2 separate regions of the Homo sapiens genome follow, and region 2 is linked to region 1. The links are contacts of gene promoters, found by promoter capture Hi-C in human tissues and cell types (Jung and others, 2019). All regions are on one chromosome and are shown on one strand. The core of a region is centred on a gene start or on the middle of the fragment in contact, and the rest is flanking DNA. Distances in the headings are between cores, read along the strand shown. Region 1 holds the start of PAPPA (pappalysin 1). Region 2 overlaps LOC105376234 (a long non-coding RNA gene).

The links. Contacts are between HindIII fragments. The study calls those that stand out against the background at their distance.
Region 2: a contact is called between a fragment that was not itself captured here and the fragment with the promoter of PAPPA in region 1, in 3 of the 25 tissues and cell types used here (H1 embryonic stem cells, IMR-90 fibroblasts and mesenchymal stem cells).

What each region holds. Positions count from the first base shown.
Region 1 is chr9:116,151,356-116,155,669 of GRCh38, reverse strand. PAPPA (pappalysin 1) reads right to left here and starts at 1,879. Exons shown (of 22, transcript NM_002581.5): 1 at 1,083-1,879. The coding sequence starts at 1,497. RefSeq lists a silencer at 13-102. The HindIII fragment of the contact is 11,414 bases long and covers 1-4,314 here.
Region 2 is chr9:115,759,026-115,763,339 of GRCh38, reverse strand. All of the region lies in intron 2 of LOC105376234 (a long non-coding RNA gene), which reads right to left. Among named protein-coding and RNA genes, the nearest start is that of LINC00474, 160 kb to the left of the region's middle. The HindIII fragment of the contact is 4,498 bases long and covers 1-4,138 here.

The sequences.
Region 1 (4,314 bases), core at 630-3,129:
TCCCTTCTAAGAAAGTGTGTGTGTGAGGGGGTGGGATCGCAAAACGCCTTCACACGTTTCCTGGCTGCAGTGAAGGGGGAACCCCTACTCTCACTTTAAGACGTCCCAGGACATGGCAAGATTGTTTGTGCAGAAAGGGAATCTCCCAGACAGAAAAGGCAAAACTTTCCTCCTCTCTTCCAGCGCCGCCCCCACCTCCGCTCCCCAGTTTTATTAAAGGCATTTCCACAGATTCATTTAGAGGGGGGAAAATGGATGCTGGAGCATTTCTAAGGTTTGCAATCCTCGCAAAGTGTCCGATTTCACTATAGGCTTTGCTGTGGAACAGCGAAGGGGAGAGAGAGGGAGGTTGAGGAGGGAGAACTCAAATTCATTACGGGCTCATAAAGTCCCATATGAGAAAAGCGCCCCGTTTCGCAGCCGCGTCTGGGGAACGCTGGCGGGGTATGCGTTAGGAAGGTCTCGTCCCAGCCCCGAGTGACAGGCAATGGGCTTTAAAAGCTAGGACATGGGATGGCGTGGAGGGGGTGAGGGTGAGTCCCAGAGGCAGGCTTCAATCAGTGAGCAACTTTGGGGCACTTCGAGGACTTCTAAGTCCTGGCCATTACAACAACCTTGCCCTTGCCGGCTTTCAGGGGAATGGGGCCTAATGAAGGGGAGTTACCTCCATTAAAACGTCAAAGAAATCAACGGTCCCCAAGTCTCCTTTCACATGCATCTCAATTGGGTCATCCTCCCTTTCATCCCAAAAGGAGAGAGTGCATCTGACCATTCGGAGCACGGGTTACGTGCCCTAGGCTCCGGGAACCAGCCCTCACTGGCCGAGGGTCCGCGGGGCCGCCAGGAGGGCTCCCCAGGTTCCTCCCAGGGATGGAGCAGCTACGCCTTCCGAGTGTGCCCATTCCACCGATGGAGCAAAGTGAGGCTCTCAGCTCGCCCGGATGTCTCTGCGCCGCTCGCGGGGCAGCTCTCGCACAGACACGCCCGCAAGCCCCCGACCCGCCCGCCACCCGCGCCCAGACACCCGCGAGCCTCTGGGGCCGCAGGGACGGTGCAGCGCCCGCCGAGGCGCCCTCACCTACCTGTGATCACTGCCGGAGACCTCTGGCCCCCCTCCGCTCGCAGCCACACTTGCAGCGTGAACGCGTCCCGGGGCAGCTCGAGGTCGGCCCGGAGGCGCAGCTGCTCGCCTCGCCCGCTGAAATAGAGCGCCCGGCTCGGCGGGCTCGGCTCCTCGGTGGCGCCCCTCGCCTCCCGCTGCTGCCGCCGCCGGGGGACGCGCACGGCTTCCCAGGCACCGCCCGGCGGCGGCGGCGGCGGCGGCGAGGCGCGGCGGCCGCGGGCCGCCCGGGTGGCGCAGGTGGCCGGGCCGGCGGCGGGGCGCGGGGGTCGGCCGGCCCGCGGGTCTCTCCGGGCCCGGCGGGGACGCTCGGCCAGCCCGCAGCCCAGCGCGGCGCTCAGCAGCCCCAGGTGCAGCACCCAACTCCAGAGCCGCATGTCCGACGGTTCCCCCCGCCCCCCCTTCGCCCCTGCACCGCCACCCGGAGCTGCCAGCTTTGGGAGCCTCGGCGCCTCGACTTTCTTCGCTTCTTCACCCTTCTTGGGCGAGCCCCCCTTTCCACTTGCTTTTTTCTTTTCTTTCTCGCTTTCCTCCTCAAGGTGTGTGCTCCACTCTCCCCACCTTTGAAAAATACAGCCCAACTCCTCCTGGTTGGCAATTAATTTCTCTCCCCGCTCCTTTATCTGCCTTATTTTTCCCCTAACAGCTGGTTGCCTTCCTCCTTGTTTTATTTCATTTTATTTTATATGATTTCTCGCTCCAAAAAAAAGCTCCTCTTAAGACTGATCCGCTGAATTCCCTCCCCCCAAAAGATGCTCTAATTTATTTATTTTTTGCGTCCTTTATAACACAAGCCACAGCCCCCTTCTCCCCCCCCAAGTCCCCCCTCCCCTCCCTCCTTCTTCTCAAAATGAAAGGAAAGAGGGGGAAAAAATCCCTCAGAAGATGAGTAAACAAGCGTATGCTAATCTGCTCCCCAGCGCTCCACCTTCCCAATTGAATGAGTCCCTGTTAAAACTGCGGGGATCATGACTAATCAATCAGTTTGGAGAGGCCGAGCTATCCAGCTTTCCTTCACTTTGCCTTTTGCCTCCTTTCCTTCGCTCCCGCTTCTCCACCACCCCCTCCTTTTCTCTCTCTCTCTCTCTCTCTTTTTTTTTTTTTTTTTTTAAGGAGACAATCTTAAAGTAACAATTTAATGAAATTCTGTACACACCCCCTTACGGTCCTCCCAGCTCTCATTCCTGCTCAAAACACACATTCCTGTTTTTGTTTTGTTTTGCTTGCTTTTTTTCCCTCCCTCACTCCCCCCACTTATTATTATTATTTCTGATGGCAGGAGAAAAATCTGTCTCTTCTCTTAGGATCCCCTTTGCACTTTGCTGGTAAACCTCATCCTTTTCTGTAGCACATAAAGAGTCTTGAAACTTGATTCTTAGATTTTTTTTTTTAATTCTCTCTCTCTGTCTCTCCCTCCCTCCCTCTCCCTCTCTTTCTCTTTTTCTCACTCTCTCCCTTACTCTTCTTCCCGCTTCCTCTCCCTTTACCTCTTTCCCTCTTCTTTTCCCTGTCCTTTTCCCTCTCAGAATTTCCTTAAAGTTGTACGATGATGAACCATTCCCCTCTTTTCTGAGCCCCCAGATAAGGCTGGCTTCAGCTAACCCAAATGTTTCCAAAGTTCTTATGGAATCATCAGAAGAAAATAGAAGAAAGGCACTGTCCAGGACATCTGCCTTTCAGAAGCTGTAGTCCTAGTACAACTGGGTCTCTGAATTTCCCCGAATACTCTTTAAAATACTCTGTTGGTCATTAGAAATTATTTTAATTTTATAAGAAGAAAATGAGAGAAAAATATTAATTTGCCTAATGTTTTCAACTTAAGCAATTCAGGTCCTCTGAAATTGTTAAAGTCACAGGTAAGGATCTGACCATTTGCTGCTTTGTAGGTCTGTTTTTGAACTGGGACATACATGTAATATATTTTTTTCTTCTTTTTTCCCCCTCTTTATAGAACTCAAAAGCTCCCCCTTATGGCAAAACAGATCTTCTTTTATTTTGTCCAAGTGTTTAATAAGTCAAAACATGTTAGCAATGGTGGATTACAAGCTATTAATTACCAATCTATTCCAATAAGGTAGTGATAAAAATATTCTGTGTGAAGTTTGCATGTGAATAGCGTGCTGAAAGTCTGCGATAAAATTAACTCCACTAAATTGTAACTTTCTTCTTCAATTGCTCTTATCTTCCGAGCTGCTCCAGATCTTTCTTGAGAGCTAGGAACATTGCTACACGCTTCAGGAAGAGAGAAAACCAAGGAAGAATGTTTGTTGGCAAAAGTATGACGATTTGTCGGATGAGCAAATGACTCAGACATCCCCTCTATGAAAGCTGGAATGCGATATATGCAAAGATTATGGAAGCTTTCTGAAAATGGGAGATCTCAGATTCATACCTTCCTAGTTTAGAAAGAAGTTGCTGAATAGTCTTAGACTAAGAACGTTTGAACTCTGTTTCTGTAGTCATAAAATGAAAATAGCACAATACCCTAAATGTGTTTCCAGAGACTGGCTGGAGGAAAGAAAATCTTGGGTGCACAATGTCATGAATAAAGAATTTGCCTAAGCAAATCTTTGACTTTTTGCAACTCCAAGTCATCTGTAAAAGGTTGCCATTGGATAAAAAGAGAGCTATGTTGAACAACATAAATTGTATCATTCAAAATCCCCCTTCCTCTCCAATAGAGGTTGGACCATGACTACTGATTTACTTCAGTTGTGGCAATTAGGCATTTAGAAACTGCATGTCTTCCAGGGGGATTTTAAGTCATTGTATACAATAATTTTGAATATTCCTAGACAACTGGGAATTATTCAATTCTCAGACCAGCAGTGGGAGCACAAGATTTTTACTTCTCATTTCCTACTCCCTCCAACACATATCAGTTCACTGGCCTTGAGTAAGACACTTCATTTCTCTTCCCTTCCACTTCCTTACCTTTAAAATGGGAATATCTACTTGGCAAATTTATTTTGAGGACAAGATATGCTCTGGGGTATAATCTTTTGTAAACAATAAAAATGATATACGAATACCATTTGTTCTATTGTTGTTGTCAAAGACAAAGTGCTCCTCAGGTTCTTAAAGACAAACAAGAATTGAGGAGGCCAAGTTATTTCTCTCCTGTAGGAGGCAGGAAAACGAAGGGACAACGAAGTTCATGTCTTATGGGTCCTTGAACTCCTTGATCTCCGTCC
Region 2 (4,314 bases), core at 640-3,139, 390 kb after region 1:
ATACCTAAGACTGTGAAATCTATTTAAAAGAAAAAAAAGAGGTTTAATGGACTCACAGTTCCACATGTCTGGGGAGGCCTCACAATCATGGTGAAAGGCCAGAGTGGAGCAAAGTCACATCTTACATGGCAGCAGGCAAGAGAGCTTGTGCGGGGAAGTGCCTTTTATAAAATCATCAAATCTCATGAGACTTATTCACTATCATGAGAACAGCATGGGAAAAACCCACCCCCATAATTCAGTTACCTCCCACCAGGTCCCTTCCATGACACATGGGATTCTGCAAGCTACAATTCAAGATGAGATTTGGGTGGGGACACAGCCAAACCATACCACCTCATGAAGGGATTAATGCCACTGTAAAAACGCTTGCAGGAATGGCTTTACTCTCTCGCTCTCTTCGGCCATGTGAAGACACAGGATTGATCTCCCTCTTCCCCTTCTGCCTTCTACCATGTGAGGACACAGCAACAAGGCCTTCATCAGATATGGATGCCTTGATCTTAGACTTGCCAGCCTCCAGAACTGTGAGAAAATACATTTCTGTTCTTCATAAATCGCCCAGTCTGCGGTATTCTGTTATTGTAGCACAAAACAAAAAGAGTCTTAGTTTTCTCATCTGATAAAATGATATTCCCAGTACCCAGCTCTCAGTGCTACTAGGAAAAGGAAGAGTAACAGGTTCTGTAAAAATCAGACTGCCCCCCTCTGATTCTCTGCTTTCACATATTTTGCCTGTGTGACCTTAGGTAAATTCCTCATATTTTTGTGCCTCAACTTTTTTATCTAGAAAATGATAATATTGGTACTTACATTATTTGAATGGGTGAGTATGAATACTTAGTACCTTATAAATATTAAGAGCTAAATAAATGATAAATACTAATGTCTATTACACAGCCCCTGAAGCATAGTAACAGCACAATAAATTGTAAATATTATTTTATTTATTCAGGAATATTTTCCTTTTATGGTCTACCATAAAATGGAAATGTTAAACCCATTTCATTGATGAAAAGGCTAAGGTTTAGCAGCTGGGATATGGTGGAATCCCACAAATACCTGGGCCCATAACTCAGGCTTTCTAAAATTCCAAAATAAGGTATCATTCCATATAAAGTATTCCAGAAGTCAAGCAGCACCTCTGGTTTCTCAGAGAACATGCTATTTCCATTAGAGCCTTCTCACCCCAAATTTCAATCTCCAAATTGAAAAAGAAAGTTACTGCTATAAACTGACAGTTTGGAATTTATTCCACTTGTCCAAGTTCTTAAATTTCATATATATGTATATGGAAGTTAAATATATTTTCTTGAATGTGATTTATGAGGACTTTCTGACAAAGTTCAAGAGGATCACTCATAATATACTCCTGGACTGCATGCTATAATCTAAACACTGGTAGAAAAGTTTGGGAAAGCAATTCCCCAAACAGTTTCATTGTCATTGAAATCACAGTATCTTGTACTTGAAGCATTGGCCCTAAAGATTCAACTTGCCTTAGAATTGAAATTGACTCAAGTTATTATAAGTTTGTGGCTTATCTGGTTTATATTAAATACCTAAAGAGAAATGAATACATCTATGGAGTCAGTGGGAGAGAGAAAAACAGTGTCAGGCTCCAAGCCCAAGGGAGGTAGTTCTTCTCAAGGAAAGACATAAGTAGAATTACTTCCTTTCCTCTTCTGGGAGACAAAGAGAGAAGTCGAATGACTAGGCATGGAATGAGAACAAAATAAGACTAATCGCAAATTAAAAGACTGGCTGACTTTCATGGACTCTGTTTTGGACTATCCTGACTTAATGGTGTTCTGCATTGTGCACTACCATAAGGATTACTTTCCAGATTATGGCACTCTGGGAGACACAAATATCAGTAGATCTCTTATTGCCAACAAAGTTTAATGTACTTTTCAAGGATTCTGTATCAAGATGCTTTGAATGGCAAGTAATAGCAAATACTAGTCAAATTGACTTAAAACATAATGGGGATTTATTGGCTCATGGAACTTAAAAGTCCAGAAATAGCAATACTCTCATGTAAGCTTTAATCCACTGGCTCAAAAGAAAATGTTGTCAGGACTCAGTTCTTCTCCTTTTTAATTTTTAGCCTTGCTTACTCAGTGCCAGATTATTTTTATTATTTACTTTTCCTCTGGTCCTAGAACTTCAGATTTCCATGTCTACATCCAGCAAGAGAAAGAGAGTAATATCCTATAGTATGCATTGAAGATAAAGAGGTTGGCTTGCTCAAAACCCATAGAAGAGTATCTTCTTTTACCCCCCACCAGCTAATATCTCTGGATTAATCCTTTTGAATATGAGAATGGGATACAAGGATAAATTCAATCTAATCAGGACCCCCTTCTATAGAACTGATAGTGGAGCTAATCCCATCAAATCTTTCAGGCTCAGAATTGTGGAGGTTGGTGGATTAGATACGGAAGAAGCAACCAACAAGTTTTTCTAACTTCTGGACTCAACCAATTTTTTTTCATCCTTACCTTCTACTTCAGATTTTACTTTCCATGCTTAGTGAACTACTTCTAGTTTGACAAGCACATACTTGATCTTCCAGCCTCTGTTCCAGTCTACTTTCCTCCTGAAATATCTTTCTTTCCATGTTGTTGAAATCATATCCATAATTTAAGGCCCAGTTCAAACAGATCCTCTTCCATAAAGCTCTTCATATTATTCTCATCTAAAGGTTCTCTCTCCATCATCTTATTTCTGATAACAATTTAAATGCCCTTTATTCCTGGGACTGACAGCTTCCAACCTTGTATTCCCAGATACTACAAGTTCTCTGAGAAAGAAGAATGCACCTCCCTTGTTATTACTTCCCCTTAGAGTGCCAAGTACCTGCCCAACATATTATAGGCAATTCAGCCAATGAGTTTTCGAGGTCATTGTCCCAGTGAAACACAGTGAGTATATTTCTATTAACATCAAAAACCCCATTTCTGCCTCTTAGAGAAGGTCTGAGGGCTAAGGGTTCTGAGAGTTTAACTCATACCTATCCAGCAGTGGGCTTATTTGGTAGCCAATTCTTCCCCTTTCCAAGTGAGTTAATGCAGTGAGCTGGTTAGCTGAGGCAGAGAAGGAAACAAATGAATAAAAAATAGGGGATTAGCAAGTATTTATGTTTTACTTTTCAAAATCAGCCTTAATACAATAGCCTTGGTCCATAAACCAATGATTCATGGATTAGAAAAAACAATACTTTGTTTTTCACTCCCTTCTTTCTTATAATACCACTCCATTTAGATCACATGTACCTGAGAAGGAGGGAAAAAGGTATTCCCTAATTTTGGAAATGAATACTTTATAAAATGAGGGACTGTCTGTTGTGTTGCAGTGTGGGATAAGTAGGGGAAGTGGTTGTGGACAAACCACAGAGAGCCTTGAATACCCAGCCAAGTGTCAGGATCCTTAGACAGGAGGAAAAACAGGGCCATTGAAAAGCTTAAGCAAATAAATGATCTGAACACATTTTTGTTCACTTTGTTGAGAGTCCTATCCATTTTTTTTTTTACTACAGGAAAAAGAATTACTTTTTGCTTTCAAATTTTGCTATTCTTGTCTTTGACTACATCATTCACAGATATTTCAAGTTTAGCACATTTAAAATAAAACTAGATTTTCCTCCCGAAACTTGGCACTACCTCATTATCTTCCTCTTAGTAAATGGCTCCATCATCCGTCCTGTTTCTCAAATAAAAATCTGGGAATCATCCCTAAAATTCTTCCGTCTTTGGCTCTATGCACTGATCCATAAACAAGCCCTGTAAATTGTCTTCATGCCTATCATTGGATTCATCCATCTCTCTCTCTCTCACTGATTGCCACGAACTTAGCCCAGCAGCTCCTGGATGGTGATGACAGTAATTCAAAGGTGATTTCTACTCCACTGTTGCTTACCTTAATCGTTCTTCACATGAGGCAATAACCCAGCTCCCAACTCCTCCCATGGTAATTCTTTCCACTCTTTTCCTCTTCTAGCCACCTCCTTAAACTTGTCTAGTTTATGCCACCCTCAAAGCCTTTGCCAATGCCATTCTGTTTACTTAAAATATTCCTTCTTCAGCCTCTTCATGAGGTTGCACTTTCTTACCTTTGAGGTCCCTACTAAAATATCATCTCAGAATGGCTTTCCATTACTACCCTATCTAAATCGTGGTCCCCTATAATTCCCTCTTTTATCTCCTGTTCACAGAACACTTTTATGTGTGCACTTCTTTGCTGTCTTTATTGTTACTTTTGTGTATGTGTGTGTTTCTCCTGTTAGAATATCAATTTTCCAAGAAAGGTTTG